Linked DNA regions of Homo sapiens: region 1 is linked to region 2. Evidence: promoter capture Hi-C in human tissues and cell types (Jung and others, 2019). All regions are on one chromosome and are shown on one strand. Each heading gives the region's core, a stretch centred on a gene start or on the middle of the fragment in contact. The rest is flanking DNA. Distances are from core to core; before and after follow the strand shown.

What was found. The method cuts DNA at HindIII sites, captures the fragments that hold promoters and counts their contacts. A contact is called where the count stands out against the background at its distance.
Region 1: a contact is called between the fragment with the promoter of KCNE1 here and a fragment that was not itself captured in region 2, in 1 of the 25 tissues and cell types used here (liver).

Annotation. Positions count from the first base shown.
Region 1 is chr21:34,507,774-34,513,999 of GRCh38, forward strand. KCNE1 (potassium voltage-gated channel subfamily E regulatory subunit 1) reads right to left here and starts at 4,437. Exons shown (of 4, transcript NM_000219.6): 1 at 4,254-4,437; 2 at 3,328-3,542. The HindIII fragment of the contact is 8,709 bases long and covers 1,222-6,226 here.
Region 2 is chr21:34,057,703-34,064,089 of GRCh38, forward strand. No RefSeq gene overlaps it. Among named protein-coding and RNA genes, the nearest start is that of MRPS6, 13 kb to the right of the region's middle. The HindIII fragment of the contact is 6,965 bases long and covers 1-5,304 here.

The DNA of each region.
Region 1 (6,226 bases), core at 3,187-5,686, 450 kb after region 2:
GCTTCTGCAAACATTTCAAAGACCTCTACTCTGGCTTTTAGAATGCTTTCTAGAGCAAGTAGCATGCATAACGACACCACTACCTGGAATTATACACTGTCTTTCTTCAGAGGCACACAAAGAGCTTAACACATTACCTTAGTTCTAGGTTAGCTGCTTTGTTTCATGCATGCTTGCTGGTGTTTCTGGAAGAACATTTATGAGGTGATTGCTCTTGAAAGACTTCAGAACAATCAAGATGGTTTGTTGCTGTTGGGTTCTTTTTTTTTTTGAGACAGGGTCTTGCTCTGTGGTCCACGCTGGAGTGCAGTGGTGCAATCTCAGCTCAACACAAACTCTGCCTCCTGGGCTCAAGCAATTCTCCCACCTCAGCCTCCAGATTAGCTGGGACTATAGGTGCATGCCACCACTCCTAGCTTTTTTTTTTTTTTTTCTGTAGAGGCAAGGTTTCACCATGTTGCCTAGGCTGGTCTCCAACTCCTGGGCTCAAGCAATCTGCCCGCCTCGGCTTTCCAAAGTGCTGGGATTATAGGCGTGAGCCACTGCACTGGCTGGGTTTTATATTTTATTTTATTTATTTATTTATTTAGACTGAGTCTTGCTCTGTCACCCAGGCTGGAGTGCAATGGCGCCATCTCAGCTCACTGCAAACTCCACCTCCTGGATTCAAGCAATTCTCCTGTCTCAGCTTCCGGAGTAGCTGGGATTACAGGCGCACACCATCACACTCGGCTAATTTTTGTATTTTTAGTACAGACGGGGTTTTGCCACATTGGCCAGGCTGGTCTTGAACTCCTGACCTCAGGTGATCCACCCTCCTCGGCCTCCCAAAGTGCTGGAATTACAGGCATGAGCCACCGCGCCCAGACTGGGGTTTTTTAATTTTCACTATTATTTTTTAATAGAAAGCATGCAAAAAGAGACGACACAGTCATTGGACAGTATTACAAAAAATAGTCATAGAAGTGAATATAAATGATGCAAAATGCAATACAGCTAGAGTCCCTTCTTCACCCTTTTTATTGATATGTTCACCCAAGTGTTCTCACACATAGAAGCAGGTGGTTTTCTTTACTACAGTAGTATAGTTTGGAGTGTTTATGCTTCACTAATGGTACAAAATTAGCTGAGAAAAGATTTAAATTGGTGTTTTAATTATCCAGTGTGATAACAAACCACCTAAAAATGTAGTGGTATAAAACAACTACTGTGTATTTTCTCACACTACTTTGTGGAGGTTTAAAAACACCACAAATTCATCACCTTGGTTTCTGTGGGTCAAAACAACCCAAATTCATCATCTCGGTTTCCATGGGTCAGAACTGCAGGTACGGGTTGGCTGGGGCCTCTGCTCAGGGTCTCACCAGGTTGAAATCAAGGTGACAGCCAGAGCTGTGGTCTCATCTGAACTAATGCAGAACTCACCAGAGCACATGTAGTGTTGGTAGAATCCATTTCCTTGTGGTTGGAGGACGGAGGTGTCCTCTTCCTTGCTGGCTGCTGGCCGGGGGCCATCCTCAGCTCCTAGAGGCTGCCCTCAAGTCCTGGCCACATGGCACCCCAGTCTCACCTTGTGGCAGCTCCAGGCCAGCAGGGGACACCACTGCTCCCTCCAGTGTCCTCTCAGGGTTCACCTGATTGAGTCAGGCCCATCAGGATAATCTTCCTTCTTTTTTTTTTTTAACTTTTTTTTTGTTTTTGAGACAGAGTCTCGCTCTGTCACCCAGGCTGGAGTGTAGTGGCCCAGTCTCAGCTCACTGCAAGCTCCGCCTCCCAGGTTCATGACATTCTCCTGCCTCAGCCTCCCCAGTAGCTGGGACTACAGGTGCCTGCCACCATGCCTGGCTAATTTTTTGTAATTTTAGTAGAGACAGGGTTTCACCACATTAGCCAGGATGGTCTCGATCTCCTGACCTCGTGATCCGCCCGCCTCGGCCTCTCCCAAAGTGCTGGGATTACAGGCGTGAGCCACCACGCCTGGCCCCTTTTTCAACTTTTATTTTAGGTTCAGGAGTACATGTGCAGGTTCATTATTGGGGTAAACTTGTGTCATGGGGGTTTGTTGTACAGATTATTTCGTCACCCAGGTACTAAACCTAGTACCCAGTAGTTATTTTTTTCTGATCCTCTTTCTCCTCCCACCCTCCACTCTCAAGTAGCCACTGTGTCTGTCAATCATCCTTCTTGATAAACTCAAAGTCAAACGAGTCCAGATCTTACCTACATCTGCAAAATCAATTTTTCCTATAAAGGAACGTAATCACAGAAGCACTGTCCCACAGTAGTACGAGTGCTGAGCCGTTGTAGGCAGAGAGGGTTGTCCTGCCCACACTCAAGGGGAGAGAGTGCAGGGCCAGTTCACCCCTCACGCGGAAGTGGCAGTGCTGGGGGCTCACTTCGTGCTCTGCTCACCACAACTCCAAACTCACAACTTTATTCCCACCAATCCCATCCCCTCCAGTCCAGGGGGCACACACTCCAGCAGGACTTCAGCTGAGCCCAGGGAACGCTTTGCTGACTGGTGATGAGGGACCTACCTCTTCACACCCATGACACCCACCCGCTGAGCCCCTCACCGGGGCTCCGAAGGCCCTGGTCAGGTCACCTCTGGTCTCACTTTCCATTCTCCCCTCCTTCCTCCCCTCCAGCCACAGGGTCCTTCTCGATGTGCCCAGACATGGTGGGTGCACACTTGTCTGACAGCCTCTCTTCTTTTCCCTTTGCTTGGAATGCTCTCTTCCCAGTTACCAAAGATACTCAGGCTCTCTCCCCAATTTCCTTCAGGCCCTTGCTCCAAAAGCTCCTTCCGGGTGAAGCCTCCCCTCCCATCCTCCTTAAAGCTTCAGCCTCTACCTGGGACACTTCCTCCCCCACTGCCTGCCTCCTTGAAACTCTCCTTAGTCCTCTTGCAGCCCACACAGCTGAACACAGGCAGGAGGGGGCGCTGCTGCCCTGGCTGGTGTGCAGCCACCAGAGGCTGAAGCTCACTGACGTCTGTCTGGGGCCCAGGATCACCTTCCTTGATTCCAGCTCTCTCAGGCTGTCAGGACCTGGCGCTGGGAGGCACTAGGCCATGCCCTGGCCTGAGGCCTTCTCTCTCCCTCTTTGCCCTGTGTCTCTGCAGGGAAGCCCGGCCCTGCCCCTGGGAGGGTGGGGGCAGACGTGTGGAGAGTGGGTGTACAAGGCCAGGGTTTGCCAGGCCCAGGACAGCCTGGCACCTGTCAATGGATGAGCGCCTCTCCCTTAGCCTGATGTCAGGGTGGGCATGAGGGTGGGAGCAGAGGGTGCCTAACTGAGGAAAGGGTCTGTGCAACCCCCTTCTCCTACCAGTTCTCGTTTCTGAAGTCTCCTCAAGCACACTGCGGTGTCCACACCATTGGCAGCAGGCTCCTTCTCTTCAGGTGGTCTTAGGAACTTCTCAGAACTTTTTGAGTTATCCTTCTGGTCTCTTCCTCCTGAGCACGGTTCTCCTGGTTGAGCTCCAGGCCATGCCATTCAACGCCCTCCAGGACAGGCCGAAGGGCTTGTCTGTTTGGTGGTTGCTAAGGTTTGAAAAAAGCCAGCTGGAAACTTAATCCCCAAAGCAACAGTGTTGGGAGGTGGGACCTAATGGGAGGTGTTTAGTCATGAGGGCTCCACCCTTATGAATGGATTCTCTCTCTCTTGTTCTCTCTCTCTCTCTTCCCGCCCCGCCCACCCCTCCTTCCCCAACCTTGTGATACCTTCCACCATGTCATGGCAAGAAGGCCCTTGCCAGATGTGGCCCCTCCATCCTGGGTTCCCAGTCTCCAGAACCATGAGCCAAATGCATTTCTGTCTGTTACAAATTATGTACGGTGTGGTTTTCTGTGATGAACACAGTGCTGTACCAGGGCCCTCTTGCCAAGACAGCCAGCTTATAGGAGCCTGCATGTGAGGCCCGGACGTCCTACAGAGCAGCAGTTAGAGGTCTGGCCTTCTGGATAGGCACTGCCCTGCCCTGCACACAGGACCTTGGTGGGGCATGATGGGGCTCTTCACCACGCTGCCCTCATTTTAGGAGGTGGGCAACCCTTTCTCCCCCTTCTCCATGTGCTTCTGCAGTTGGAAGAAGTGAGGGGGGTTCAGACACACTTAAGCTGAGCTTAGAGCAAAGCATGTCCCTCAAGGTGACCTTGCCGCATGGCCTGAACCTAGAATTCCCCTGACCAGGGTGGACAGCCATCACCATGGGCCTTTCTGCCTGGCCTAGTATGGCTCTCCTTCGAACTCACCTAGACCCTTGCATCAAAGGACTCGGGGACTCTGCTGCAGTCATCCTAGCACGGTCGAGAGGAGTAGGAAGGTGCCCAGCGGCTCAGCCTTTAAGGAGGTCTATTGGTCACCATTGCTTCTGCCTTCTTGAGAACCATCACCCTCGGAGGATCCGGTAGTGTATCCCAGTCAAGTGTCAAATGCGTTGTTCCCTGGAGAGGAAGGCTTATTTCCAGAAAGTACTCTGACGTTTTGTAATTTGTGATTTCTATCACTGGCTCAGTGGCCTACCCACTGCTCAGCTCATGTGGCATGACCAGGCTGGGGCGTCGGGTCATCTTGTTCTCTGGGTGTGTGGCAACACTGGTTTATGGCGTAATTTCCTTCCTGAGAAGAAATTCAGTAATTTCTAATATTCAGGGCTTTAGGTAGAGGCCTGAAAATCACTCTCCATGCCTCTTTCAGTATTTTATATATAGTTGTCTCTTGGTATCCATGGGGTTTGGTTCCAGAATCCCCTGCAGATACCAAAATTTGCGAATGTTCAAGTCCTTTATATATAGTGGCATAGTATTTGCATATAACCTATGCATATCAGCCAATCATAGATGGTGATTTAAATCATCTCTTGATTACTTCTAACACCTAATACTATGTAAATGCTTTGTAAGTAGTTGTTACCTGGCATTTTTTTATTTGTTTTATTTTTGTTGTTGTTTCATTAATTTTATTTTATTTTTGGAATATTTTCAGTCCATTGTTGGTTGAATCCACAGATGCAGAAGCCTTAGACACAGAGGGCCGACCACACCTATGTATGCTGTTCTTAAAGTAGCAACATATTTGTTCTGAACATAGAAGAAATTAGTCGTCTATTAGACTTTAAGGGAGTAAATATGGTCCAAGTTGATTTTTAAATTTAGCAAATAGTCATAGACATATCAGTGTCTTACAGAAAATATTTATTGGAATGCTCACTCTCTCATTTGGGATACTGCTTTGCCTTGCTGTGTCTTAAGAATGTCATCAGAGCATCACACACTTGAAAAACGTTTTTAAAAGGATATGATGATAATTAAGACCTTCTCCCCAACCCCTGCCCATTATCCAAGATCAATGTTTTTTTCCTTTATCCTGATTTTAAAATCAAGTACACTTTATTGAGGCATACTTTACATGAAGCAAAATGTACCCTTTCTAAATATGATAAGTTTGATGAGTTTTCAACAGATGTATACAGCTGTTACCATGACTGTGTCTTTACCCAGGTTCTTGCATTGCTCAATCCAGATACAGAATGTCTCCATCACCCTGACAAGTTCCTTTGTGCCGCACCCTCTAGCCAATCATCTGTTTTGAGGAGAGTTTTAAAACAAAGGTTTTTGTTCTTTTTCACTGATGACCATAACCTACCACAGACAGGGTCTCTCTCTCTCTCTCTCTCTCTTTTTCCCTGTTCTTGCGCCAGCTGCCTGACAATTTGTGGGATTAAAGCTCTAAGCTGCTTACTGGCTCTTCTGACTAGGGAGAGGGAGCAAGCCTCATTATTTTTCTATTCTTTTCAGTGACTGCTCACTCCTCTTCCTCCAAAATCCCTATCCATCCATCCATCCATCCATCCATCCATCCATCCATCCATCCATCCAACTTTCCATCTACCCATCTATCCTTCCATCTATCCAATCCACTTGCGTGTTGAACGTCTACTATGAGCCATTGGCTACCAGGAATCCCACTTCCACCCAAATTATGTTTCAACAGGGAAGACAAACAATTTAACAATTACGATAAAAAAGAAAATATGCCATACAATGGAAAAGAAGGGGGCATGATGGGAGACCCAGCGGGAGTAGCTGGCAACGATTCTTAGGGGGAAGAGACATTCCTAATAGACACCTGCAGGAGAAATATTAAAGAGTCAATCATTTCAGTAGCGCTTATTGTGACCAATAATGCAAGAAGTTTCTGGGTTCCCAGGCTGATGGGTTTGAAA
Region 2 (6,387 bases), core at 572-3,071:
CCCGGGTTCAAGCAATTCTCATGCCTCAGCCTCCTGAATAGCTGGGATGACAGACATGTGCCACCACACCTGGCTAATTTTTGTATTTTTAGTAGAGATGGGGTTTTGCCATGTTGGCCAGGCTGGTCTCTAACTCCTGGCCTCAAGTGATCTGTCTGCCTCAGCCTCCCAAAGTGCTGGGATTACAGGTGTGAGCCACCGCGCCCCACCTCAGGGGTGTTGACTTTTAAAATGTGGGAAGAAGACAATTAAATGAGGGCTTTAAAGCTTTACATGCAGTGAGCAAGGAAGCTTCTGGAAAGCATTTGAGGCCCATTTCCCACGACTTGTCCCTGACAGTAGCTATGAAAATCCCGGGGTGGGGCTCATGGGAGTGAGGTATGCATCCTCTTGTGGGACGCTCTGGCTGAGCAGCGCAGGCCAAGAGACTTCCAGGCCACAAGGAAATAACACCATCAAGACCGGAGCGATGGCATCACGGGTATCCCCTCAGGAAAAACTCAGAAGCTGGCACAGAGGGGCACGCTGGCTGAGGTGGGGTAAGCTTCCTGGTACTCGGGAGGTCTGCTAACAAGAGGACAGGAAAGGAGACTGGGACTGGATGGCGTGGTAAGATAGGGACCTGGGCACAGGGATGGGTCACCAGTGTGTGTTGTAGCTGCTCTAGGCAGGGTAAATATTTCCCACCTGAGGAGGGAGAAAAATGCCAGTGGTGTTGCAATGTTACTGTTTTGCACAGCTGCGGACCCAGAAAAGGAGAAGGACACCCTTTCCTGCCCTACTCTAGATTAGAAGATTCCCGCTGTCTTCTATTCCTCCCCAGCTGTTTGTGTTTCAGGCCTTCTGAGGGGGATCATGCTGAAGGCACCTCCAGGGAGAGAGGATGTGGGGGGAGCAGCAATGGCAGAGACCTATGTCCCAAATGGAACCCATGGCTCCAAGGCTGAGGCTCCTCAAGCCTCCAGCTAGACCCCCTTTTTCCTCATCTCCCTCCCTGGGAACTCAACCTAGCCAAAGGCTTCAGGTACCACCCTCAGAGGGGGCACAGAGGTTGATATCCCCAGTTAAGTGGGGACAGCCCACCATCTAGAGCAGGGGTGTCCAATCTTTTGGCTTCCCTGGGCCATACTGAAAGAAGAATTGTCTTGGGCCACACATAAAGCATGCTAACACTAACAATAGCTGATGAGTTTTTTAAAAAATTGCAAAATAAACTCATAGATTTTAAGAAAGTTTACGAATTTGTGTTGGACTGCATTCAAAGCCATACTGAGACATCCTGGGCCACACTCAAAGCCATCCTGGGCTGCATTCGACCCATGGGCCATGGGTTGGACAAGCTTGATCTAGAGGAAATTCCTACCTTATTCTGCCAGCAAATATCTATTCATCACCCTCTGTGTCAGGCATTGTATCAGGGGCCAGGACCTTACCATGATTAGACCAAGGCCCTGTTCTCTGGAGCTTACATTCTACTGAAGCCTCACGGCACTGCAAACCCATTATGTGCTGCAGGCTAACACTGATGGAGCCGGGCACTGTGTTAGAGCCAAATTAGAGCTCCTTACATCCCTTCTGCTCATTAGGATCTGCTTCTTCTCAGCTCCTGGAGTGCCACTGAGCCTTCAAGTGGAGTCAGGTTTCCCCAGCTGTGGAAAGAGGGGACATCTGGGGAATAAGAGTCAAGCAGAGCTTGGTGATCTGAATCAATTTTTCTTTTAAAGCATTGGGCCTTTGTAGCAATAATGGCAAACCGCTATTAAGCACTTCCCACACTGCAGGCTGCACTGTACTTTCCGTGTATTGTGTGTGGTATATTGGACACGACCCTATGCCTTAGGTCTGATTATGTTACAGATGAGGAAACTGAACCACAGAGTTCAGTTACTTGTTCAAGGGTACACAGTCATTGGACACAGGCGGTCTGGCTTTGGCTCCATGCTCTTGACCACCAAGCTGTACTGCTGCCAACTAGCCACCTTTGGTGAGACCTGCTCTGCCTACAATTCTCTTGGATAGTTCTTCTCTTGGAAGCAAGAATTTGTATGCCATCACTGTACTCTCGTGGATTCAGATGGATCTGAAGATGGATGTCAAGTGAGATTCCTCCTCCTGATCAGAGATGGTGGTATCTGCTGTCACTTGAACTTGGCATGTGTGTCCTCAGGATACCTGGGCTATGGGCTAGCCATCTTCCATGGTGGGCATGTAGAGGCAGAGAGTGCTTGTCTCCAAACAGACAAGATGGCATGGGGAGGGTGGGGTGATGTCAGACACTTCATGAGCAGAGCAGAGACAAGATACATGTAGTCCCAGAGAAACCAAGGATGTCTTGTCTAGTTCCCCAGGAGCCCTGGATGTACGTTCTGTTACTGGATTCTAGGATGCACTCTTGAGTCCTTTGATACATCCTTGTTTTTACTTTTTTAATGTAATAATTACAAAATGATGGCCAATGAGATTGGCGAAAATATAAAGAGTGTTGCAAATAGCACTCATTCAACGAATCCTAATCTTTCAGCAAAGAGATTAGCCTGGTGTGTGTATGTATGGGTGAAAGTGTGCATGTATTTGTAGGATCTGCCCACTCAAATCAGGTGATGAAAAGTTGACAGAGGTTTCAATTAAGATTGACATAAGGTGAAATTTGAAAGCCACCCAGAAAACACATGATACACTGTTATGAAACTAAATCCCAGGGCAAAGATGTGGGCACAGAGGGACTCTCTTGACACAGCTGACAAGTTCCAACTCTACTATTCCAACTCCAGTATTCATGGCTGCTCAGGCAAAATCATTCTGGAAGTACAAAGCACCTGTGTCCAGATTTGGTGTTTACTTCTCTACCAAGAACTTGAATTTGTAACTGAGTCAAGGTCCTGAATCTGCCACCAGTAGACTCAGTTCACTGGAGACAGCAACTCTCTTCCCCTCAGTTGGGTAAGGGACTTTGCAACCCTGGGAAAATGTAGAGACTAGTGTAGAATCAATGAGGAGCAGAATCAAAACCAGAATACTATCATATTTTACTGATTCTAAGGTGCACAGTGTTTTACATTTTACCATCTTGGGAATTAGAATGCATTTTACAATCGATGGCATCAGGCCACGCACAGTGGCTCACACCTGTAATCTCAGCAGTTTGGGAGGCTGAAGCAGGTGGATCGCCCAAGGTCAGGAGTTTGAGACCAGCCCGGTCAACATGGCAAAACCCTGTCTCTACTAAAAATACAAAAATTAGCTGGGCATGGGGTGGGCACCCTATAATGCCAGCTACTCAGGAGGCTGAGGCAGAAGAATAGCTTGAATCTGGGGGGTGCGGCATGGAGGTTGCAGTGAACCGAGGCTGTGCCACTTCACTCTGGCCTGGCAAAAGAGTGAAACTCTGTCTGGAAAAAAAAAAAAAAAGAAAAGAAAGAAATCAATGGCACCATATGATTATAAATGGTGATCTAAAATAAAAGTTGAAAATTTCCAAAAAATTATAAATGTTTGTGTTTTTTCTACCTTAGTGATATCCTAAAAAAAAAGTTGAATCTTATATCTTAGATTCAACAAAATATAGCACTCTGCTTTAGTTAGTTTAACTGTCTCTCCCAAAAAAAGTGTGATGAAAACTTAATTCCCAATACAACAGTGTTGTGAGGTGGGGCCTAATGAGAGGGTGATTCAATATGAGAATCAATAAAATATGACAATACTCTGGTTTTGATTCTGCCCTCATGAATGGATTAATGCTATTATTGTGGGAGTGGGTTCCTTACAAAAGGATGAGTTTGGCCCCCCCTTGGCCTCTGTCTTGCCCTTCCACTTTTTGCCATGGGATAACACAGCAAGAAGGCCCTTGCCAGGTGCTATCTTCTTGATCTTGGACTTCCCAGTTTCCAGAACTGTGAGAAATAAATTTCTATTCATTATAAATTACCTAGTCTGTGGCATTCTGTTATAGCAGCAAAAAATGGAGGAAGACACACTCTTTTTGTGGTAAGGTTAGGAATAATTTTTAAATCATCACTATAATCTTTTGGTTATTTAAAGAGATTGGAACATGGAAGAAAATCTAACATAGTAGACAGCCTGGCATATTACACTTGCAATTTTAATTTGAAACATTTAAGAGGATATAATTAATTGAATTTGTAGACAGTCTTTGGAAGTTGTATTATTGGGGTACAATCTAACCACAAAATGTAATGGCTCAAAGATGATAGAAGTTTATTTCATTTTTTGTTAACAGTCAGTAGTGAAATGGTCCAGAGCTGGAGGCCAAGCAGCCTTGTGATTTGAGGTCTTCTAAGGAATTGGTTCCTTCTCTCCTTTGGTTCTCCCTTGGCCTAGGGTGTTATCTTCATAAGCATGGTTGATGGTGGCTCACTACCACATCAACGGGAAGTGGGAAAGAAGAAAGTCTATGGCAAGTGTCTTTAAGGAGATGCGCTCATTGTAGCACACATCATATCTGCTCATATTCCATTGGCCCAAACATAGTCACATGGTGACAGCCAGCTGCAAAGGAGCTTGGGAAATGTAGTCTGTGGTTGTGTGGTCATGCAACTAGTTAAAGCTTAAGGGTTTTAGCTAAAAGGAAAAGAGGGGAGAATTAACACTAGAAAACAGTCGATACTTATCCACCATGAAGCTTAAGAGAAGCTCATTCCCTAGATTTATTAAATTTCAATAATCGCTTAAAGGCTTAGAAAGATCTTGTCAGGTTTATGAGTTTGCCATATCAGGTTGAAGTGTTTTAGAGAATCAGATATATTTTAATTTCAAATGCACTAAAAATGTCTTAGGAAGTTTAATAAAGAACAGAAATTTATTGTCTCATAGTTCTGGAGTCTGGGAAGTCCAAGATCAAGATGCTGGAAGGTTCAGTTGTCTGGTGAGGGTTTGCTCTCTGCATTCAAGATGGTGCTTTTGAGTGCTGCATCCTCTGGAAGGAGGAATGCTGTGTCTTCACATGGTGGAAGGCAGAAGGGCAAGCAAGGTGTATTCACTCCATCAAGCCCTTTTAAAAGGGCACCTAATTCCATTCTAGATGGAGGAGCCCTCATGGCCTAATCATCTCTTAAAGGCCCCACCTTTTATCACATTGGCAACACATGAATTTTTCAAAGGACACATTCAAACCATAGCAGAACCTTTGGACAGGTTTCTATTACTTATGACCAAAAAACCCTGAGGAAGACAGTTTCTCCTCCAACCCCCTTATGTTTCTATGTGTCTCTGTGTCACAGAGCTCACAGCTACATTTCTAAAATTATGACAACTCTCAACACATGCATGAATGGAGGAGACACCCATGGTACCCATTGGTTGCCTGTCTAGCCTCCCCTTTGCTGCAAACTGTTTCTCCTTAGCTATAACCTCCCAAATTTGTAGGGTTCAGAGGTAGTTATTAGCAGCCACAGTGATATGATTTGATCTACTCTTTAGACCTGGCTGATTGGCCCAAGGGTGGACCAATGAACCAGTTTAGGCTAATCAAGTGCCAATTGAAGGAGAGCCTTGGAGTATCCCTTGGTGTTTAGAGGGATTATATGTAGACCAAGGAGCTGAGAATGGCTATCATCTATTGTGCAGATGGGAGAGCAGAGAAAAAGGGCCCTTTCAGAGAGAGAAGAAAGCTGACTGGCAGAGAAACAGAAAAAAAATGTGGAGAGCATCTTGGTTCTAGTCAGTTCCTGAGACTGTCAGCTGCATATTGCCTCGAGTCCTGGGAGACATCCGGTACACTTATAATAATTTATCTAGAGTCAGTTTCTACTATTTGTAACCCACAGAATTCTACCTAATACGCCTGAAAATATATTAAACTCATTGTGTAAAGCAATCTTGTGAGTTTTGTTTTCGAGAGAGCTACTTAGTTGTCTCAATTAGTGGAAAATTCCAGTGCAGATCTGACCTTTGGGTTTCAGAGTACAGGGACTGATCCAAGGCATGTGCCCTGGTAAGCCCAAAAAATCAAGCTTACCTAAAACTCAACTCTTTCAGTAACTCTAGCCTGATAATCACTGCAAAATACCCAACAATGACTGAGTGTTAGAAAGTTATAGGCAACTAACCATTTTTGACTTGTATAACATCTTATTATACTTAGAATAACTTATAGGGTGATATCCAAATTGCATTATATGGTCTATGGCATAGACTGCTAGTTTACCGTACTCTGCAACGTAAAGCTACATTTCCCAGCCTTTCTTGAAGGCAAGGCAGGTCCACAGGAAGGACAAAGTTCTGATCCATGGAATATGAGTGTAAGTGATGGGTTCAACTTCTGGGCCACTTCTTTAAAGGGAATTACTCAAGTCTTTTTTCTATTTTGCCATACTGTTCCTGGAATGTGAACATGGTGCTGGGAGCGGAACAGCCATAAAGAACCATGAG